3 separate regions of the Homo sapiens genome follow, and all the other regions are linked to region 1. The links are contacts of gene promoters, found by promoter capture Hi-C in blood cells and fetal thymus (Javierre and others, 2016). All regions are on one chromosome and are shown on one strand. The core of a region is centred on a gene start or on the middle of the fragment in contact, and the rest is flanking DNA. Distances in the headings are between cores, read along the strand shown.

Region 1 (2,889 bases), core at 1-2,500:
TTTTAACATCTTTTTCTGATAACCCAGATCAGTTTTCATAAAACCCCTGAAGGTAGAAACCAGCTTACATTAAGCGACATCATTGTACTCCCTACTTGTGCATAATAATCAACTTTTTAAAAAATTTTAATCTTCAGCATTAAAAGTATCCTACCCACCAATTCAGGAACCTCGAACTCGGACTGGAGCCACTTCGCTCTCTGGATGTAAAAACCTCAGACGATCACCTCTTTTTTTCTCTCCCTACTGTTCAAACACCTAAATTATGGTTTAGTGTGTTGCACATGTCCTCAAAAATACTTTCTAGTAGCTCACCTCCTCCACATCCTTTTAAACTAGAAAAGTGTCCAACTGGCAATCCTCAAATCATAAAGGCAGCAAAAACGCCCCTGAGCGCTGTCACAAATTTTTAACAAGTGCATTGACGCCAACCAGCAAGGGATCCAGCTCCGCCGCCAAGGCCAGCACCCCCGCGCGGGTCTGGCGCAGCTCGGGGCCGGGCCCAGCTCAGCCCTTCAGCCCCCGGCGCGCCTCGCCGGCCTCGGCCTCCCCTCTCCACAGCGGTCCCGGGGACCTTCCGCCCCTCTAGGGGGTGTGGCCGAGGCGGCGGCGGTGAGCGGAAGGCGGCGGGAGGCTCGGCGGCGAGTGCGGGGCGGAGGCGCCACCTTAACCCGAGAGTTGGGAGGGGAGGGCGAGGGGCGTGCGCGTGGAAGAAGCTGCCCCGAGGCTGCTTTTAGCGGCGGAGCCGGCGGGACGCGGCAGGTTGGCAGCGCCCGGGGCGCATCCGGGGGGCGAGAGCGGAGGAGCGGCTGAGCGTCCCGGGACAGTCGGGGTGGGCTGCGCTGCGCTGGGGGCGCCGCGGCGGGGGGCGCACTCACCTATGCACAGCTGGATGGCGTAGGCGTAGTAGGACCAGCCGAGCAGGAGGGTGATGAACACCACCGGGATCCAGTACAGCACCCGCCGGCACCGCCGCCTGGCGCTGCTGCCCGGGCCCGAGGGCGCCATCTTCCAGCCGCATCCACCTGCCCAGCTCCGCCGCCGCCCGCGGGCCTGGCTCCGGGGCGGGCTGGGCGGGCCCGGCACCCCTGGCTGGACGGGCTCCTGGGCGGCGGCGGGGTGCGCTGCGGCCACTGCCGCCGCCGTGGCGCTAACTCCCCATCCCGCAGCCCCGAGCCGGCGCGGCGGACTCCCGGCTCCTCAGCCCGGCGGAGGCGGAGGCGGCGGCTGCGAGCGGAGGCCGAGGAGGCGGAGGGGGGCGGTGAGGCGGCGGCGTCGGGAGGCTGCGCTCCGCCCCCGCCGTTCCCCGCCGCCCGGCCGCCTCCCCTGGCGTGGCAGGCTGCGCCCTCGGGCGGGCTCTGCGGGGATGCGGGGCCCTCGCTCGGGCCACCTCGCGGGCTCCCACCGTGGCCCCGCCGCCTCCGGCTCGGCCTCTGGATTCCGGGGAGGCGGGGGCTGCTGGGCGCAGGCCCCCGGGGCGGAGCGGGCGGTGGCGGCCCCTCCCTAGGCGCCCGGCACCCGGGGCAGTTAGGTCGCGAGCGCTTCCGCGCTTGGCGCAGGGCGGGGGTCGGAGGCGAGGCCGGCGGAGCAGCTGCTGCGCTCGGGACTCCGCGCCTGCCGCGACCCAGGCGCCCTGAGAAAGTCTGCAGCACCGAGGCCCGCGTCCCCGCAGCCCGCGTGGAACCCTCGCGCTTCAACTTGCGGGTCCCTGGGAGCCCGCGGGGGCCGCAAGGAGCCTCCCTTTACTACTCGGGCTTTCGGGGGAAGCAGAAATGCACAGCGAAGAGGGGGTGCCGAGCCGGCGTCTGGCATGGGAGGGGCTGTGGAGAGCGAGGAAGAAGCATTTTTGGCTGTGAATCCAGGCACCTCTGGAGTTAGAAACACAAGTTCTTTGCTCTGAGAATGTTGATGCTTTGGATAAATGATTGTGACAGGGGCCGTTCCCACTGTCCCCTCCCTCAAGTACGGTGGTTCCTTCCACCAACTATTTATTCTTTTCCTCAACCCGCTCCTCACTACGGTGTTTACTTTCGTGGTGGCAATTCCAAACTTAGCAGATAGCTGACTCCAAAGCGGTTCCCAAAAAACACCGTAAGGGAACCTAAAGGTAGTCAGCCCAAACCTCTGATTTTATGATTCACGAAATGGAAAATAAACAAATGCCTCCTTTGCTTTTCCTTCATCTGATTATGAACGCACCTGATCCACAGGGAAACATTTCAATCAATGAGTGTGTGTAAATTATGTGCATCACTACTATACATAATAGGCACAATTTTTCTTAACATTAGTGAATATGTGTATTTACACCACACAGCAACCACAGTGAATGAAATTACTTCTTATTCATGTGTAGAAGTAAAAAAAAAATACTGATTTACATGAATTCAGTCAAAGAAATTTAGCTCTGGTGTCTGCGATTATCTTTCTGTGACTGGATTACACAACAAGCTAATCTCTCCCGAAATAGCTACTATGTTACAGCCCCCCACCCCACATCTCTTTCCATTTCTCTTCAAAAATGCATAGAAAATGTCAGTCAAGTTTCTGTGGGACTTTAAATAATTGAAAAGAGAGACATATTATGTCCCAGTGAATCACTTGATTTTGCTGTAGCCTTTTATATTCTCTGTGGATATTCTGTATATTAATGTAAAAATAAAACTTCTCTGGATTCCTTAATGTTTTCCATGAATATTAATCCTGTGTTCCCCCCCAATCAGAAGAGAGTAAAAAACAGGAATTAAAACTTCCTCCTGGGACTGAAATACCCTCACAAAGAGAAGCAAATCAGTGACTGAAGGTCAATAGAGACCATCAAGGTATGAAAAGGAAGGAATCGGATTTTCCATACTGGAAACGGTGGAGAAAGTGCAAATAGTGCCTCTG
Region 2 (2,700 bases), core at 167-2,666, 3.4 Mb after region 1:
TAAACAAAAATTGACACAACCCACATAACTGACTCACATTAACGAAATTTCACGGTGGTCACTAAATTGCTCGTTGTAACTCAAACATGACTGTTCTAGGGCAGGTTTCTTTGGAAGGCAGCTGGTCTACCCCACGTTGGTTGAATAAGGAGTCAATTCTTCCACCTTTCTTATTTTACTCAAAGGTCTGTGAAACTCTGTTTCATGTTTAAAACTCAACAACCCTCAGAACTGTGTTCACAGATAGATCCAATCATTTATCCATATTCAGGGTGTCTTATCTTCTTCTTTGAACTATTTTCTGACTTGCAGCATTCCCATCTGTAAGAATCTGATCAATGACGAATTAATTGCAAGGTTACCTCCGTGTATTCCAACCTGGATATCTATGCTGCAATGCCATGTTTATCTTCTTACTCAAATCCCAATATTGATAATGCAAGTTAACCATGTGTTATGACCATTTCCTGATATACATTTTGCCTGTGGCAGTTTTAAAATGTATCCATTATTTTTTTGTCATCTCATCCCACTAACAGGTGGTGTTGCCATATCCTTCTGATCTTTGAATCTGAACTGGCCTTGGTGGCTCAGTAGTAATGAACAGACATAAAGGAACAAAAGTGACACTGCGTGCCTTCAGAAGCTAGATCATTAAAAATAGCACTGCTTTTGCTCTGCCCACTGGAGCACTCAGGCTTGGACCCATGAGCCACCATAGTGGAACCACTCTGATATTGATATGCTGTGAAGAAACTCAATCCACTGAAGAAACCACAGGTAGGGGCTCTAGTTGAAAGGTCCAGTTGTTAAATTAACTCGCATTACCTCTTGTCCCTCAAAGCTGCCTTAAGGCTTATTTTGGAGTCACATTGCTAAGCCTTGGGTTTTTATGTCCTTAATTTGTTAATCAGTGTATTTTCTGAGATTTACCAGGAAATGCAGTTGACAGCACAGTTCCAATAATTATTGGAAGAACAAGGTCAGAAGTTCAAAAAGAAAAGGAAAGAAAAAGATAAAAAGAAAACAGAAAAGAAAAGAAAAAGAAGAAAAGAAAAAAGGAAATCTGGTACAAAACACGGGCCAAGGGTCTTTAGCATTCCCAGAGGGAAACTTGGACAGAAATTCAAACAAAAAAGCTTTTAAAAAGCTGACACTGTATTGTATACTTAGTTTAATGCTAAATATGTATCTTTATCTAGCAATAATTAAAGACTGAAGGAACATTTTTTGTTTGATACTTTTTGATATGCATTATTAGTCATTCACACTTCTATGTATTTAGCCACTCACCAAGGAAAGCTTCTTGTGAGAAGTGTTATACTTGAACAGCTATAAATTGGCTGAATTTTTTAAAAATGGAAATTGAAAGATAGCCATCCCACCTTCACATAGCAGTCTAAAACTGGATAAAGCATTATGCTATAAGTTTTATTTCATACTTAATAATAAAGTTGGAATGTGCAAATTATTGCTACCCTACAATTGTGATATAAAATATTCTGAACCACGTTTGACAGTCCAAGCTTTCTAAATTTCAAAAATTAACATTATAGGCACACTGACTTTCTTTTAGAGTCCAAAATTCCAAAAGGCAAGAATAACGTACAAATGCTTTTGAAGTCAGATAGATGCTGGTCAGGTATGATTAAAAACATTTTGCCTTTGTTTAATCAATTAATTTTTATATCATCCAAACACGCAAGCAAATCTTTAAGATATGTGATTGTTTGTTGCATTTATAAATTTGTGTTTGGCTCTAATCTGAAGGCGTTTGTAACAAATGTGTCTCCTAATAGAGTGGCTTTTCTTCTGGGGTGGATACAGTTCTCCAGTGGCACCAGAGACTTCAAGCACACTGCTGACAGACAAGAGGCTGTCAGTTTAACAGAGTCCTATCACATAGTAAATCAATACGTTAACCCACAGGCAACCCCTTAGCATGCAGGTGTGCAGGCTAGAACTTTCCAGCTTCTCTGGGTGTGTGTTAGTATGTTTAAGCATTAGTGTAGTATGTTGAGTTCTCTTTTCAATGTTTCTGCTTACTGTGATCATGATATCAGCATCAAAATTTCTAATATTTTGCTCTTAAGTATACAAACAAGTAAAACAAGCCAGCAAATCAACTCTTACTTACTTTGTGTTACCTGCATCCTACACCAATACTGGGTTAAGTACTTTCAATAAAGCTCAATCGATCATGAAAACCCCTGTTTTGCAGAAGAGGCTCACAGGGATCAAGTGATTTGTCCTTGATTATGTAACAATTATGTGAAGCAACAAAAAGGATTTGAACCTACCTCATCTGACCTCCTTGTCAGATTAAACCATAAAGTAATTTTAACATTCAGTAATGGACACAGTTTAATCTGTTTCAAGCACCAAAAATGTAACATAAAATTTACAAAGAATGTTTTATCAATAATGTATCTTATTTAAACATGAAACCCCCCTGGGTCCATGAACCCCAGGTTTATTTTTCTCTATAAAAATTCAGCACCTGAATTGTGGGCAGTATACCAGAAGTGGTCAATGATCTTAAGCAGCTTGCACCATGTCAGGTCCCAAAGCTCTAAAACTGCATACTTAAATATATATACTATGTACACATTGTTTGTGTATCTCTCACTCCATGTGAAAGAAACTCTGAAAATTAAAAAGGCTTTTTGCCCTAAGGGAGATGGAACACAGTGTGCCAAA
Region 3 (2,778 bases), core at 81-2,580, 4.3 Mb after region 1:
CGGGCTCTCTGAAAAGCCTGATTTGTAGCATTTGCCAACTTTTCTGGTGTAAATAATTCTACAGTGGCTCATTACAAGTTACCAACGTGAAGTCACTGAAAGTGGAGTTGGGAAAGATGCTCATTTGCTGCCACAAGCTGGCTCCAGCATACCTCTGATTGAAGATGAGAAGGTTTGAGCTGGATTTTATATTCTGCAAAGAATATGTAAGCGCTAATAGCTCATAGTAGAAAAACCATGTGCTTAAAAGTTTGATAGATCCACATTTAAATCCAGCTCCACTGCTTTCTAGCTTTTAGCAATGTGTTTTTTGAATCTAAGTGTTAATGTCTTTAAAATGAGCTGATAATACCTACCTTTCAAGGTTATTGAAAAATTAGAAAGGATAATGTATATAAATCACCTCAGCAGAATGTATATTTCTAATAAGTGGTGAGCTGACTATCCAAAGCCACCAGAGGACAAGATGTTCAGGCACAAAGATGCTGAAATGGGGGCTAGCACACTGAGCAAACTCTTGTCCTCTAATCCCAGAGAGTTTATATCTAGGAAGAGCAGTCTGCTTAACTGGCTATGAGGAAGTCATTCTGGTCATAATGAGAGATACATATTGGAGGAATGTGGAGCACTAATATCAGATAAATATTGTGTCTCGATTTTGGTTTTCTGCATAGGAAGCAAGAGAAGGAAATTCATTGTCAAATAATAGAGAACACATTGCTTTGGGAACTCTGGTTCTGACCTAATGGCAGAAGGAACAAGACTTACCTGTCTCTTTGTTGTCTTTCTGTTGGAGTGGATTTGTTTCTAGTCTTTGCTCTTAATAGGGAGCAGTACTTTGAAAGTGCTGACTTTATGTAGGCCCCTTGGTTCCAACTTCCCATTTGAGAAAGACTCAAGGCTTCATTCATCTCCCCTCTTCTTTTTCGTATTAACAGAGATGCCCCAGGTAACTGAAGATCAGCAGATTCCTAGATTGCTGAGACTAACAACCTGTCCTCTGGAAGCCAGAGCATCACTGCTCAAAGCTTCTCACTGTGGTTTTAGTTCCAGGTTCATTTCTGAACTGTGTCTACATTAGATAATAAAAATATATTATATTTTAGCCAGTATTTCTAGGTGCTTTTAGTGGAAGGATTTTCAAATTCTGTCCTCCACAAGCCGATAGCTGTCAAATAAGTTTATCCCTCCAATCCTATAGGCCAAACAATCTCCAGTTCTATCAGTTAAACGTCCCATTTCAAACCAGTCCAAACTCTTGCCCTGCTACTCAACTCCCAACCTGGCTCACATTTTCAACTTCAGTTTCCCCAGGCATATCCAATCCCCCTACCCTCTGATCAAACTAGAAAACACTCTCTATGATCTAACAATCCACAAAGCAAATACTGCATGGTTCGAAGTCTGTGACAGTAGATGTTTTTTTGATTTGAAGAAGAAGAATAGAAGCATCAAGAATCCTCGCAGAAAAGTTTTTAAATGATTTGTAAAGGATTCATTTAAAAATGATTTTGTTAAGACCCTCCCATGGTAATTGCTAATATTTATAAAACCCAAATTTATGCCTGAAAGTTTCAGTAATTGAGAACAAAAGTAACATCTAAAAACCCCATTACAAACAAACAAGCTTTTTTTTAGTATAAAGTCTTACATTAGTATAAAGTTCTTAGTCTTTACTGTTGAGTCCTTGATGTAAAGTCTTAACTAGTTTTTCTTTTTCTTTTTTTTTAGAGATGGGGTCTGATTATGTTGCCCAGGTTGGCCTTGAACTCCTGGACTCAAGTAACCTCCACTTAGGCCTCTCAAAGTGCTGGGATAACAGATGTGAGCCACTGTGCTCAGCTTCTTTACATTTTTAGTGTAAACTTAGGGTAAAATCTCCTATTGTAGAAGCTTCTATTGTGGTCAATGTAATATGTCAAATTGACTAGGTTATGGTACCCAGATGTTTGGTCAAACACTAAACTGGATGTAGCTGTGAAGGTATTTTTAGAATAAACTTAACATTTAAATCAGTAGACTTTCAGTAAAATAGACTACCCTTCATAATATGGGTAGGCCTCATTCAATCAGGTCTTAGGAGAAAAGACTGAAGCATCCCAAAGAGGAAGAAACTCTGCCTCAAGATTTCAATATAGAAACACTGCCTGGGTGTCCAGCCTGCAGATTTTGGATTCAGGTCTTCAACTTCAACTCTTGCTGAATTTCCAGCCTGATGGTTTGCTGTACAGATTTTGGACTTGCGAGACTTTCCGCCAGATGCTTCCTCTCACCCCTTGTCCCTGGCATGGCTTTATTCCAGAACCTCTGTCAAAATATACTTTATGGGTGGCTACTCTGGCTTAATGAAGAGATAGAGATGGCAAACTTCTCATCAAGTCATATTTGTTTGGCTCTCCAAAAAATGTATTAAGCTATTAATATATTTGCAGCACTGGGGCCACCTCAAAAATGGGTTAAAAGATGGGTTCTTCTGGCAGGGCGTGGTGGTGCATGCCTGTAATCCCAGCACTTTGGGAGGATGAGGCGGGTGGATCACCTGAGGTCGGGAGTTTGAGACCAGCCGGACTAACATGGTGAAACCCCGTCTCTCCTAAATACAAAAAAAATTAGTCAGGCATGGTGGCAGGTGCCTGTAATCCCAGCTACTCAGGAGGCTGAGACAGGAGAATCACTTGAACCTGGGAGGCGGAGGTTGCAGTGAGCCGAGATCGTGCCATTGCACTCCAGCCTGGGTGACAAGAGTCAAATTCTGTCTCAAAATAAATAAATAAATAA

Evidence for each region. The method cuts DNA at HindIII sites, captures the fragments that hold promoters and counts their contacts. A CHiCAGO score of 5 or more calls a contact.
Region 2: a fragment that was not itself captured here is called in contact with the fragment with the promoter of ZDHHC2 in region 1 in 5 of 17 cell types (naive CD8 T cells, total B cells, naive B cells and 2 more); the score reaches 9.9 in naive CD8 T cells.
Region 3: a fragment that was not itself captured here is called in contact with the fragment with the promoter of ZDHHC2 in region 1 in 2 of 17 cell types (naive CD8 T cells and total CD8 T cells); the score reaches 10.2 in naive CD8 T cells.

What each region holds. Positions count from the first base shown.
Region 1 is chr8:17,154,843-17,157,731 of GRCh38, reverse strand. It overlaps ZDHHC2 (zDHHC palmitoyltransferase 2), which reads right to left and starts at 1,250. Exons shown (of 13, transcript NM_016353.5): 1 at 879-1,250. The coding sequence starts at 1,008. RefSeq lists a silencer at 432-1,791. The HindIII fragment of the contact is 4,757 bases long and covers 1-2,889 here.
Region 2 is chr8:13,723,801-13,726,500 of GRCh38, reverse strand. No RefSeq gene overlaps it. Among named protein-coding and RNA genes, the nearest start is that of C8orf48, 160 kb to the right of the region's middle. The HindIII fragment of the contact is 224 bases long and covers 1,305-1,528 here.
Region 3 is chr8:12,863,987-12,866,764 of GRCh38, reverse strand. It overlaps LOC105379289 (a long non-coding RNA gene), which reads right to left and starts at 1,299. Exons shown (of 3, transcript XR_949509.3): 1 at 769-1,299. The HindIII fragment of the contact is 599 bases long and covers 1,031-1,629 here.